Linked DNA regions of Homo sapiens: region 1 is linked to region 2. Evidence: promoter capture Hi-C in human tissues and cell types (Jung and others, 2019). All regions are on one chromosome and are shown on one strand. Each heading gives the region's core, a stretch centred on a gene start or on the middle of the fragment in contact. The rest is flanking DNA. Distances are from core to core; before and after follow the strand shown. Region 1 overlaps CIDEC (cell death inducing DFFA like effector c). Region 2 holds the start of TADA3 (transcriptional adaptor 3).

Evidence for each region. The method cuts DNA at HindIII sites, captures the fragments that hold promoters and counts their contacts. A contact is called where the count stands out against the background at its distance.
Region 1: a fragment that was not itself captured here is called in contact with the fragment with the promoter of TADA3 in region 2 in 4 of the 25 tissues and cell types used here (adrenal gland, aorta, mesenchymal stem cells and 1 more).

Annotation. Positions count from the first base shown.
Region 1 is chr3:9,863,045-9,867,633 of GRCh38, reverse strand. CIDEC (cell death inducing DFFA like effector c) reads left to right here. Exons shown (of 7, transcript NM_001321142.2): 7 at 338-920. The coding sequence ends at 500. Among named protein-coding and RNA genes, the nearest start is that of CIDEC, 15 kb to the left of the region's middle. RefSeq lists a silencer at 3,255-3,549. The HindIII fragment of the contact is 3,135 bases long and covers 432-3,566 here.
Region 2 is chr3:9,790,660-9,795,733 of GRCh38, reverse strand. TADA3 (transcriptional adaptor 3) reads left to right here and starts at 3,261. Exons shown (of 9, transcript NM_006354.5): 1 at 3,261-3,518; 2 at 4,241-4,474. The coding sequence starts at 4,268. It overlaps ARPC4-TTLL3 (ARPC4-TTLL3 readthrough), which reads right to left and starts at 3,186. Exons shown (of 12, transcript NM_001198793.1): 1 at 2,610-3,186. The coding sequence starts at 2,612. ARPC4 (actin related protein 2/3 complex subunit 4) reads right to left here and starts at 2,652. Exons shown (of 6, transcript NM_005718.5): 1 at 2,610-2,652. The coding sequence starts at 2,612. It also overlaps a transcript of OGG1 not described here. RefSeq lists enhancers at 1,987-2,076, 2,276-2,802, 2,777-2,876, 2,803-3,329, 4,434-4,934 and silencers at 3,007-3,296, 3,357-3,446. The HindIII fragment of the contact is 18,412 bases long and covers 1-5,074 here.

The sequences.
Region 1 (4,589 bases), core at 750-3,249, 73 kb before region 2:
TTTGATTGTTTTTTGAGACTGAATCTTGCTCTGTCACCCAGGCTGGAGTGCAGTGGTGCCACCTCGGCTCACTGTGACCTCCGCCTCCTGGGTTCAAGCGATTCTCCTGCCTCAGGCTCTGGAGTAACTGGGATTACAGTCACCCACCACTATGCCTGCCTAGTTTTTGTATTTTTAGTAGAGACAGAGATTCGCCATGTTGGCCATGCTAGTCTCAAACTCCTGACCTCAGGTTACCCGCCCTCCATGGCCTCCCAAAGTGCTAGGATTACAGGCGTGAACGCCATGCCCGACCTACTTCGTGGTTTTGACTTGCGTGCCCTCTCATTCCACCCAGGGAAGCTTTCCGCTGGGCCCTCTTCAGCATGCAGGCCACAGGCCACGTACTGCTTGGCACCTCCTGTTACCTGCAGCAGCTCCTCGATGCTACGGAGGAAGGGCAGCCCCCCAAGGGCAAGGCCTCATCCCTTATCCCGACCTGTCTGAAGATACTGCAGTGAAAGCCCAAGTCCTTGGAAGCTTTCCCCAGTGAAGGACTGACTGGGGGCCTCACGCTTAACTGGTAGTGCCCACAAGCCTGGCAGCTGTAGAGCCGCGAACCTCCCCACACCTCCCTCACCGCGCAGGACCCTGAGTGAGGAGGAGGAGCTGGAAACCTGGGGTGGGTTGGCCAAAGGAGAACCTCAAGCTCCTGGCCTGATCCAGCTCCTTCCTGCCCAAGGCAGCTTAGCCCATCCAGACTGGTCCTGAAGTCTGTCCCTCCATTGGCATGAAGTCTGCCCCTTAGCAATCTGGCCTCGCAGGCTGTACTTTCATGGTGCTCTCTACCTTCTGGCCCCCATCCCGGAACATTCCTGAGTGAATTCGCAAGCGCACTAGCATGTGATATTAGGGAGTTTGCAATAAATTATTGAGGCTGATGTATCTTCTTTGCCTGTGTTCTTTGGGGTGGGGTTTTATCTGGAAGGTTGGAGGGGGCTAAAGGAAGAGACGAATCTATTGTCAAAGTATTCTCTTTAATGTAGGATTACAGCTAATGGCACTTTTTCTACCAAAGAAGAAAAAAAAAAACAGCTGGGCACAGTGACACGTGCCTGCAGTCCCAGATACTCAGCAAGCTGGGGTGGAAGCATCCCTTGAGACCAGGAGTTCAAGGCCAGGCTGGAGCACAATAGCAAGACCCCAGGCTCCTTAAAAAACAAAATTGCAGTTGATTTTGAAACTAAAGTCAGCTGAATTTGAGGCTTGAGCTGACCATGTAATTGATACCATAAGTAACAATTTCCTAATTAAATTCACCTATCAGAGGAGCTTCAATTGAGCAGGTGGGATTAAGTCACTCTTCTAATTTCTCAGTGTCCCATTTTATAATAACCGTTTAAGTGGTTAGGTGAAAAAGTACTACTCAAGCTGTAAGGCATTTCTCCATCAATGCCCATCCTAACTTGCCAGACAGCTTATCTTTCATGTTCAGGACTTTCAACCTCGGGATTTCAAAGTGGGCTCATAGGTAGCCCCAAAGAGTAGGAGCTTCTCATCAGTGTGAGCTGGCATTTTCCAGTATTGGACAACTCAAGACAAGCATGAAAGGCTGAACTTAGGCTGGGCATGGTGGCTCACGCCGTAATCCCAGCACTTTGGGAGGCCGAGCCAGGCAGATTACCTGAGGTCAGGAGTTCAAGACCAGCCTGACCAACATGGTGAAACCCGGTTTCTATTAAAAACAAAAAAATTAGCTGGCCAGCATGGCAGGCGCCTGTACTCCCAGCTGTTTGGGAGGCTGAGGCAGTAGAATCGCTTGAACCTGGGAGGCAGAGGTTGTGGTAAGCCAAGATCGTGCCACTGCACTACAGCCTGGGTGACAGAGCGAGACTCCATCTCAAAAAAAAAAAAAAAAGGCTGAACTTGTAGAACTTGTAGGTGACTGTTTTATTTAGTCTGTGACTGAAAGATTTAAAAACTTGGCCAGGTGCAGTGGCTCATGCCGGATATCCCGGCACTTTGGGAGGCTGAGGCAGGAGTATCGCTTGAGGCCAGGAGTTCAAGAGCAGCCTGGGCAACATAGCCAGACCCTGTCTCTACACTAGATAATAAAAAAAAATTAGCAGAGCATGGTGGCTGTAGTCCCAGCTACTCAGGAGCCTGAGGCAGGAGGTTCACTGGAGCCCAGTAGGTCGCGGCTGCAGTGAGCTATGATTGTGCCACTGCACTCCAGCCTGGGCAACAGAGTGAGAGCCTGTCTCTGGGAAAAAAAAAAAAGAGGATTCAAAAACTCTATCACAGCCAGCCGCAGTGGCTCACGCCTGTAATCCCAGCGCTTTGGGAGGCCAAGGCGGGTGGATCACAAGGTCAGGCATTTGAGAGCAGCCTGGCCAACATGGCCAAATCCCGTCTCTACTAAAAGTACAAAATATTGGCCGGGCATGGTGGTGGGCACCTGTAATCTCAGCTACTCGGGGGGCTGAGGCAGGAGAATTGCTTGAACCTGGGAGGTGCAGGTTGCAGTGAGCCGAGATTGTGCCATTGCACTCTAGCCTGGACGACAGAGTGAGACTCCGTCTCAAAAAAGAAACAAACAAACAAAAAACGAAAAACAAAACAAAACCTATTGTTTCACTACTCTTACTATAAAGCCTATTTGGATGTAGTAAATACTAAGGCAAAGGCCTATATTACCAAAGATGGTCTGGGAGCTATTTATGGCAGCGGACCCAAACCCTGCAGCCTATGGGCAAAGCGGCTGAAGCTCGCTGAAGAGGGCCTGCTATTCCGGGCTCTCCTGCTCTTTTGCAGTTATGGCTGGAGGCTGGCCCGGTGCCAGGCTGGCTCCATGGGGTGGGCTGTCTGGCAGGGAGGCCTGATGTTTGTATTAGCACAGAAGCTATCCCAGTCCACCCTTGATGAAGCTGTGGCGGGGCCTACCTGCTCCTTCCGTAAAGTGCTCAGTAACAGAGTTGGAGTGGGGGTGGGAGGCTCGGTATTTGTCCCAAGCTTCCCTCCTCCTGAGATCCGGAGTTTCACAAGTGAATCTTGAGCAACTGCCCATGGTCTCTTGGCATTGAGCCCAGGGAAAACAAGGTTCTTTCTTTTCTTCCAGGAGCTCGAGGCTAATGGAGTCAAAGCAGCTGTGGTCAGTGAACAGAAAAGGCAGCCTCTGATGAGGCTTGGGGGCTGGGGAGGGAAGATTCCAAACAGCAAAGGAGTTTGAGCCTCTGTAGGGCCTGGCGGTCCTAGTGGGGGAACGGCCTTTCCTGGGGCCCCCCGCACAGCCAGGAGCAGCTGTCGTCAAGGTGGACTGTGTCCCAGCCCCTCCAGCTCAGCCTTTTCATCTGTTCAAGCTGGTGCTCGGGAGTGCACAGGATGCCTTTCAGAAGAATTCTAAATCCCGGGGGCCTGTGATGCCACAGTCACATGTCTGAGCCCAAAACAAGAGAACCACTTGTGTTTTTGCCACTCTTCTTACCAGCGATGCCCATATTTGTGCATATAATTTTTTTTTTTTTGAGACGCAGTCTCACTCTGTCGCCTGGGCTGGAGTGCAGTAGTGTGATCTCGGCTCACTGCAAGCTCCGCCTCCCGGGTTCATGCCATTCTCCTGCCTCAGCCTCCCAAGTAGCTGGGACTACAGGCACCCGCCACCACGCCCAGCTAATTTTTTGTATTTTTAGTAGAGACGGGGTTTCACCGTGTTAGCCAGGATGGTGTCGATCTCCTGACCTCGTGATCCGCCGGCCTCGGCCTCCCAAAGTGCTGGGATTACAGGCGCAAGCCACCGCGCCCGACCCATATATGTATTTTTTGTGGGGTGGGGGAAATACTGATTCTGAGATGTGTGCTGCCTGGAATCCCATGGCCACCGTGACCAGGGTTGTAGGGGGCCCAGGGGCCCAGGGTCTTTGATGTCAGCCGCATCTCCTGGCCAGCATTGACCCAGGGGTCCCACGTCAGCTGGTTTAGTGGGGGCCGCTCCCTGGGGTCGAGGCTGAGGAATTGTTTTACTAGTGTTTCCAGTGGAAACGAAGAAATAGGTGGAGAGTCATACTGTCACATAGCCTGAGGCGGGAAGGGACCACGGGTGGGGCTGGATGTTCTTTCAGCCTCCCTGGCAGAGATCACTGACAGAGTGGTCAGCTTGGCCAAGCTTCTGCGGTGGATGGCTCTGATGTAGGGGAGGGAGGCAATCCCCAGAGCAGGAATGGGTTCCCAGGGGCCCCTATCCTTGCAGGGGAGGCGCTGGCCATCCTCCCCTCAGAGCCTTCTTCACTGCAGCCCGTAGGGGGGCGAGTGACCTGGAGGATCCGTGCCCCAGGGGCAAACCTCTGGGCTCTGGCTTCAGCCCCACCCGGGAAAACATTCACAGCTCCTCCGGAGAAGCGCCCTGCTGCAGGAAGACTCTAGGGCAGGGCCCAGCTGCGAGGCTACTGGCCTGTTGGTGACAGTACCCCAGGCTTCAAACTCTCTGGGCCTGTTGGCAATTCCCTTCCCTGGGTACAACAGATTCCCACCCGGCCCGCCCTTCTGCTCGCCCCACGGGGAAGTGGCCCAGGAGTGGAGGCGTGGACAGGCATCCCGATGGCTCAGAGTCGGGG
Region 2 (5,074 bases), core at 2,012-4,511:
AGCTATATAGCCTCCAACCTAGCTCAGTACCTAACATATACAGTGTCTCACTCATTTCCTGTAGAATAAATAAGCGAAAGAAATAATTAAGATTAGAGTAACACAAAAGGACAGCAAGAGTTCCAGAGTAGTAATGAGTACAATGTTTCTGTATATGAGAAGCATTTTAGATTCACTAAATGAGGCTGCAGCGGTAGGCTGAGGTAAGATCATGGGGAATCTTGAATGCCAGGCTACCAAGTTTAGCTTTTCTCTTAAGGGGGTAAGGAACTACTGGGGCTTTCTGAGGAGGAAGTTCATGACTGCAGCTGCATGATGGCTCTGTGGAGAATGATTTGGAGAGGGAAGTGAGACATACAGCAGACTGTATCACAAGCAAAGAGTATCACAAGCGTTGGACTGACATTAGATGGAGTGGATAATGGAACTGAAAAAAAACTTCCCAGGGGCTCACGCCTGTAATCCCGGCACTTTGGGAGGCCGAGGTGGGTGGACCACCTCAGGTCAGGAGTTCAAGACCAGCCTGGCCAACATGGCAAAACCCCGTCTCTACTAAAAATACAAAAAATTAGCTGTGGCGGGTGCCTGTAATCTCAGCTACTTGAGAGGCTGAGGCAGTAGAATTGCTTGAACCCAGGAGACTGAGGTTGCAGTGAGCCGAGATCACGCCACTGTGCTCCAGCCTGGGTGACAGAGCGAGACTGTGTCTTAAAAAAAAAGAAAAAGAAAAACCACTTCCAACGAACTGTGGTCCAGCCATTCAATTAACTACTACTTGGTAATAAAAAAAGAGTAACTATTGATACACACAACATGGTTGACTCTCAAATGTATTATGGTAAGAAGCCACACTTAAAAGCCTGCATACTAAAGAATTCCATTTACATGACAATCTGAAAAAGGCAAAACTACAGGGGGGAAAAATCAGTAGTTGTCTGGGGTGGGAAGGAGAGGACTGATTACAAAAGGGCTTGAGGGAACTTTTTGGGGTGACGGAAATGTTCTGTATTTTGGTTGCAGTAGTGGTTACACAACTTGACTTTTTTTTTTTAAGACACGGGATCTTGCTATATTGTCCAGGCTGAAGTGCAGTGGCTATTCACAGGAGTGATCACAGTGTACTACGGCCTCGAACTTCTGGGCTCAAGTGATCCTCCTGCCTCAGTGTCCTGAGCGGATGGTACTACAGGCGCATGCCACCATACCCAGCAAGTTTTTGCAACGCTTTTTTTTTTGAGACGGAGTCTTACTCTGTTGCCCAGTCTGGTGTGCAGTGGCACGATCTCGACTCACTGCAAGCTCTGCTTTCTGGGTTCACGCCATTCTCCTGCCTCAGCCTCCTGAGTAGCTGGGACTACAGGTGCCCACCACCACGCCCGGCTAATTTTTTGCATTTTTAGTAGAGAAGAGGTTTCACCGTGTTAGCCAGGATGGTCTCGATCTCCTGACGTCGTGATCCGCCCGCCTCTGCCTCCCAAAGTGCTGGGATTACAAGCGTGAGCCACCACGCCTGGCCTTTGTCAACAGTTATAGAAAGTAAACCTAAAAAGGGTGACTGGCTCCGTGACGCCTGTCCTTTCATGAATAAAACAGATGTAGTCTCATGTAATACCTCAATAAACTTGAACTTTTAAAAATCAAGAGGCATGTGCCCCACTAGAAAAAAAAAATACAGATTTTTAGCAGAGACATGAGGTCACAAAAGTTTGCCAGGATAGGGAACCCAGGAGGAAGAACAAATTTAGAATAGAATATGAGTTTTGAACTAGAGGTCTAATTTCAAGGTCTCTTCAAGATATCCAGGCAAACCTTGAAAGAGAGCTGAGAAGCCAGATTAGGAGTCATCAGAATGAAGAAAGTTATCGAAGCCAGGAGACTAGATCGGTATCACCAGGGAAGGTGTGACGAAGAGGGAGATGGTCATCCAAAGTCACAACTCCCAGGAATGCCCACACGTATGAAAAAGGCCCACATGTATGAAAAAGGCCCACATGTATGAAAAAGGGAGGACTTCCAGGAAGGGAGGGATGAGCAGTATCACAGCTAACATACACTAAGGCTGACACAGTTCAGTTCTGACCAGGAAGGGCCTGAATGGAAGCAACACGAGAGATCCTCCAATGGGGTGGAAGCAGGGCTGGAGGTACCAAGAATGGGATAAGGAAGTGTGGCCGCCTGCCTTAAGCAACTGTAGGGTCAGGAAGGCAGAAGAGGACAAAGGGCGTATGTCGTGAAGTTCCACTGTGGATAGGCAGGTGGACTTGCTTCATGCCTCAGAGGCTAAGAGGCCGACTACGTACCCTCGAAATGCTCCAAAGAGCCTAGGAGACCCCACTTCCGGGTTCCTACAGGGCTCAGGAAAAGCCCCTACCTGCTTCGAAGGCTGACCGTGAAGCCACAAGGCCCACTTCATACCAGGGAGTACCCCCACTCGCCCCTTCCTCACCTCGGGCCCCCGCCCCGTCTCTTTTTCCCACCCTCATCGTGTCCCCACAACCCCCGGACATCCCTCGGCCCCGCGCCCCTGCGGCAAAGCCACATCTCCCACCGACCCACTGCCCTGAGGCCGAACAGCCGGGGGTCCCTGGCCGGGGGCCCGGCTCTCTCACCATCGCGGGCGCTGGCTGGGCCGGAAAGCGGAAGTACGGAAGTGGCCAGCCCCGCGATGCCTGCCCTTTCGCGAGAAGCGCAGCTACGGTCTCCGCCCGGACTTCCGGACGGTACCATCTATGCTCCGAGCGGGGTAGAGAGCCCTTACGAACGCTTGGGCCTTCCGGAAGTTTTCCACCTAGGGCTGTCTCGGTATTTTTAAATTCTTGCACTCGAGTCACTATTTAAGCTCCTCCAGGAATGGGTGCAGCTTCCCTTTGTGCCTTCGGCCTTCTTGTCACCTTTGCCACAGCCTCCCCCAGGTATGCAATGGTACAGCCCAGCTTCAGATTGGGCACCAAATTAGGACAAGCCGAAGCGGACGAGCCCTTCGTTTCTTCCGGTTCTGTACCCCCATCCTTTCTCTCGCCCCTCCTACCCGCAGCTCCTGGCGCTCGGCGGGGCTAACTGCAGCGCGGAGATCTCGGCCGCCAAGCTCCGCCTCCCGCCCCGGGCTGTGCCCCGGGGCTCGCCTGAGGCCGACCACCCGCACCCCACCTCTAGCGGCTTTGCTCGAGGCCCACCTTCTTCCCACCCCCGGCAAACTCCAGTAGGCTCGCCCTCGCTGACTCCCCGCCCCCGCGTCAACTGCAAGGGGCCCGCCCATAGCCAGTTCCGGGGCGGTTGCTCACATCGACCGGAACTCCCCGCCCCCTCCCGCGGCCCCTGGGGCCGTAGGAGGCCGCAGCGAGGAGGTAGAGGGGGCGGGGGTCGCACTAGGGTGTCCCTAGAGAACGAGGACTCTGAAGGCGGGACATTTGGGCGACCCCCGGGCGGGGCCAGCCATTAAACAGTCCCACTTCTGTGCCAGACACTGAACTGGGCTCTTGACGGGCATCATCTCTTAATCCTCAGAACATCCCAGGGAGGTAGGTACTATTGTTATCCCCATTTTTCAGATTCAGACTTTTAATGGGGAAACAGACCGAGACTTCTTTTGTCCCCATTTTACAGATGGAAAAACTGAGACTGAAAAAGGTCAAATAACATGTTCAGGGGCATATAAGTAGAGAATGGTAAAGCCTGGGCTTGAACCCAGGTCTGTCTGGCTTACCAGCCCACGTTCTAAACCACTGTTAGTGACTAGAGAAGGGAGAAAGGTGGAATAGGGTAAGAAAAGAGGCCAAGAGTCCCAGAGAACATGGTAAGAATGGGGTGCTTGGAACTCAAAGTCTTAGCAGAACCCAAGAGAAATAGAAGGGAAGGAAAGAGCATCAGAAAGGCGAGGCAAGGCATAGCAGTATAGCATGGTGATCAGGGTGCAGACTCAAGACTAGCGGGGTTCAAATTGCATCTTGGAAGCATAGGCACATACCCACCCTTACAGAGTCTCAGTTTCTTTCTCTGTAAAAACGAGATCACAATGGTCCTTGTTCATGGTGCTGAGTGAGAAATTCAGTGAGATAAACTGATAAAGTGCTCTGCACCTAGCTTGGTACCCAGTTAAGTGCCCTGTGAGTAGGAACTGTGCCATCAATTTTGTCAGTAAGGGACTGAAGCTGGGCTTCCTTGAGGCTGTCCCTGGAGGTAAGAAGCCCTTGGGCTTTTCTCAGACCACTTTGTCTCCCATCAATGGCCCTGTCCTCTCCAGCTCCACAGGATCCCCATATCCTGGGCCATGAGTGAGTTGAAAGACTGCCCCTTGCAGTTCCACGACTTCAAGTCTGTGGATCACCTGAAGGTCTGTCCCCGCTACACGGCAGTGCTGGCACGCTCTGAGGATGATGGCATCGGCATCGAGGAGCTGGACACCCTGCAGCTGGAGCTGGAGACCCTGCTGTCTTCTGCCAGCCGGCGCCTGCGTGTGCTTGAGGCCGAAACCCAGGTGATAACCCCAGAGAGGGGCCAGCACCAGAGATGGACTGCAACAAGTTATGGGATGGGTCATTGAGTTAGCCCCATATGCTGAGACTTGGGGTACAGGGGTTTGTGGGGAGAGGGAGAGAGACGCAAACTGGGTTTGCATGACACAAAAAATACACAAGAATATGCATGATCCTCTTAAATTGCAAGATTTCTAATTCAGTAAGCTTTTATTGGCACCCCACTCATCCCCCATTGTGTTCTGGGTCCTATGCTAGTCATTAGAGAAAGGTAATTAGGACAGTTATGGCTGTCAGGGAGCTTGGCAACTAGGAAAGTGAGAAAGTCAAGTACATACCAGGTGATGTGATGTTGTGGTTAGCAGTCCTAGGGAACTGGAATGGGGAAACCTGGATTTGAATCCTGGCATAAGCGCTTGCTAGCATTGCTGTTTCCTAGCTATGTGACTTTGAGAAAGTTGCCTCATATCTCTGAGTGTCAGTTTCCCTATCTGCAAAGTGGGGTGAATAATAGGACCTACCTTAGTGCTTTTGTGAGGATTAAAAGAGAATTTTTTGCAAAAACTCAGCCCAATGCCAGACACTAAGTAAGTACTTCAGAT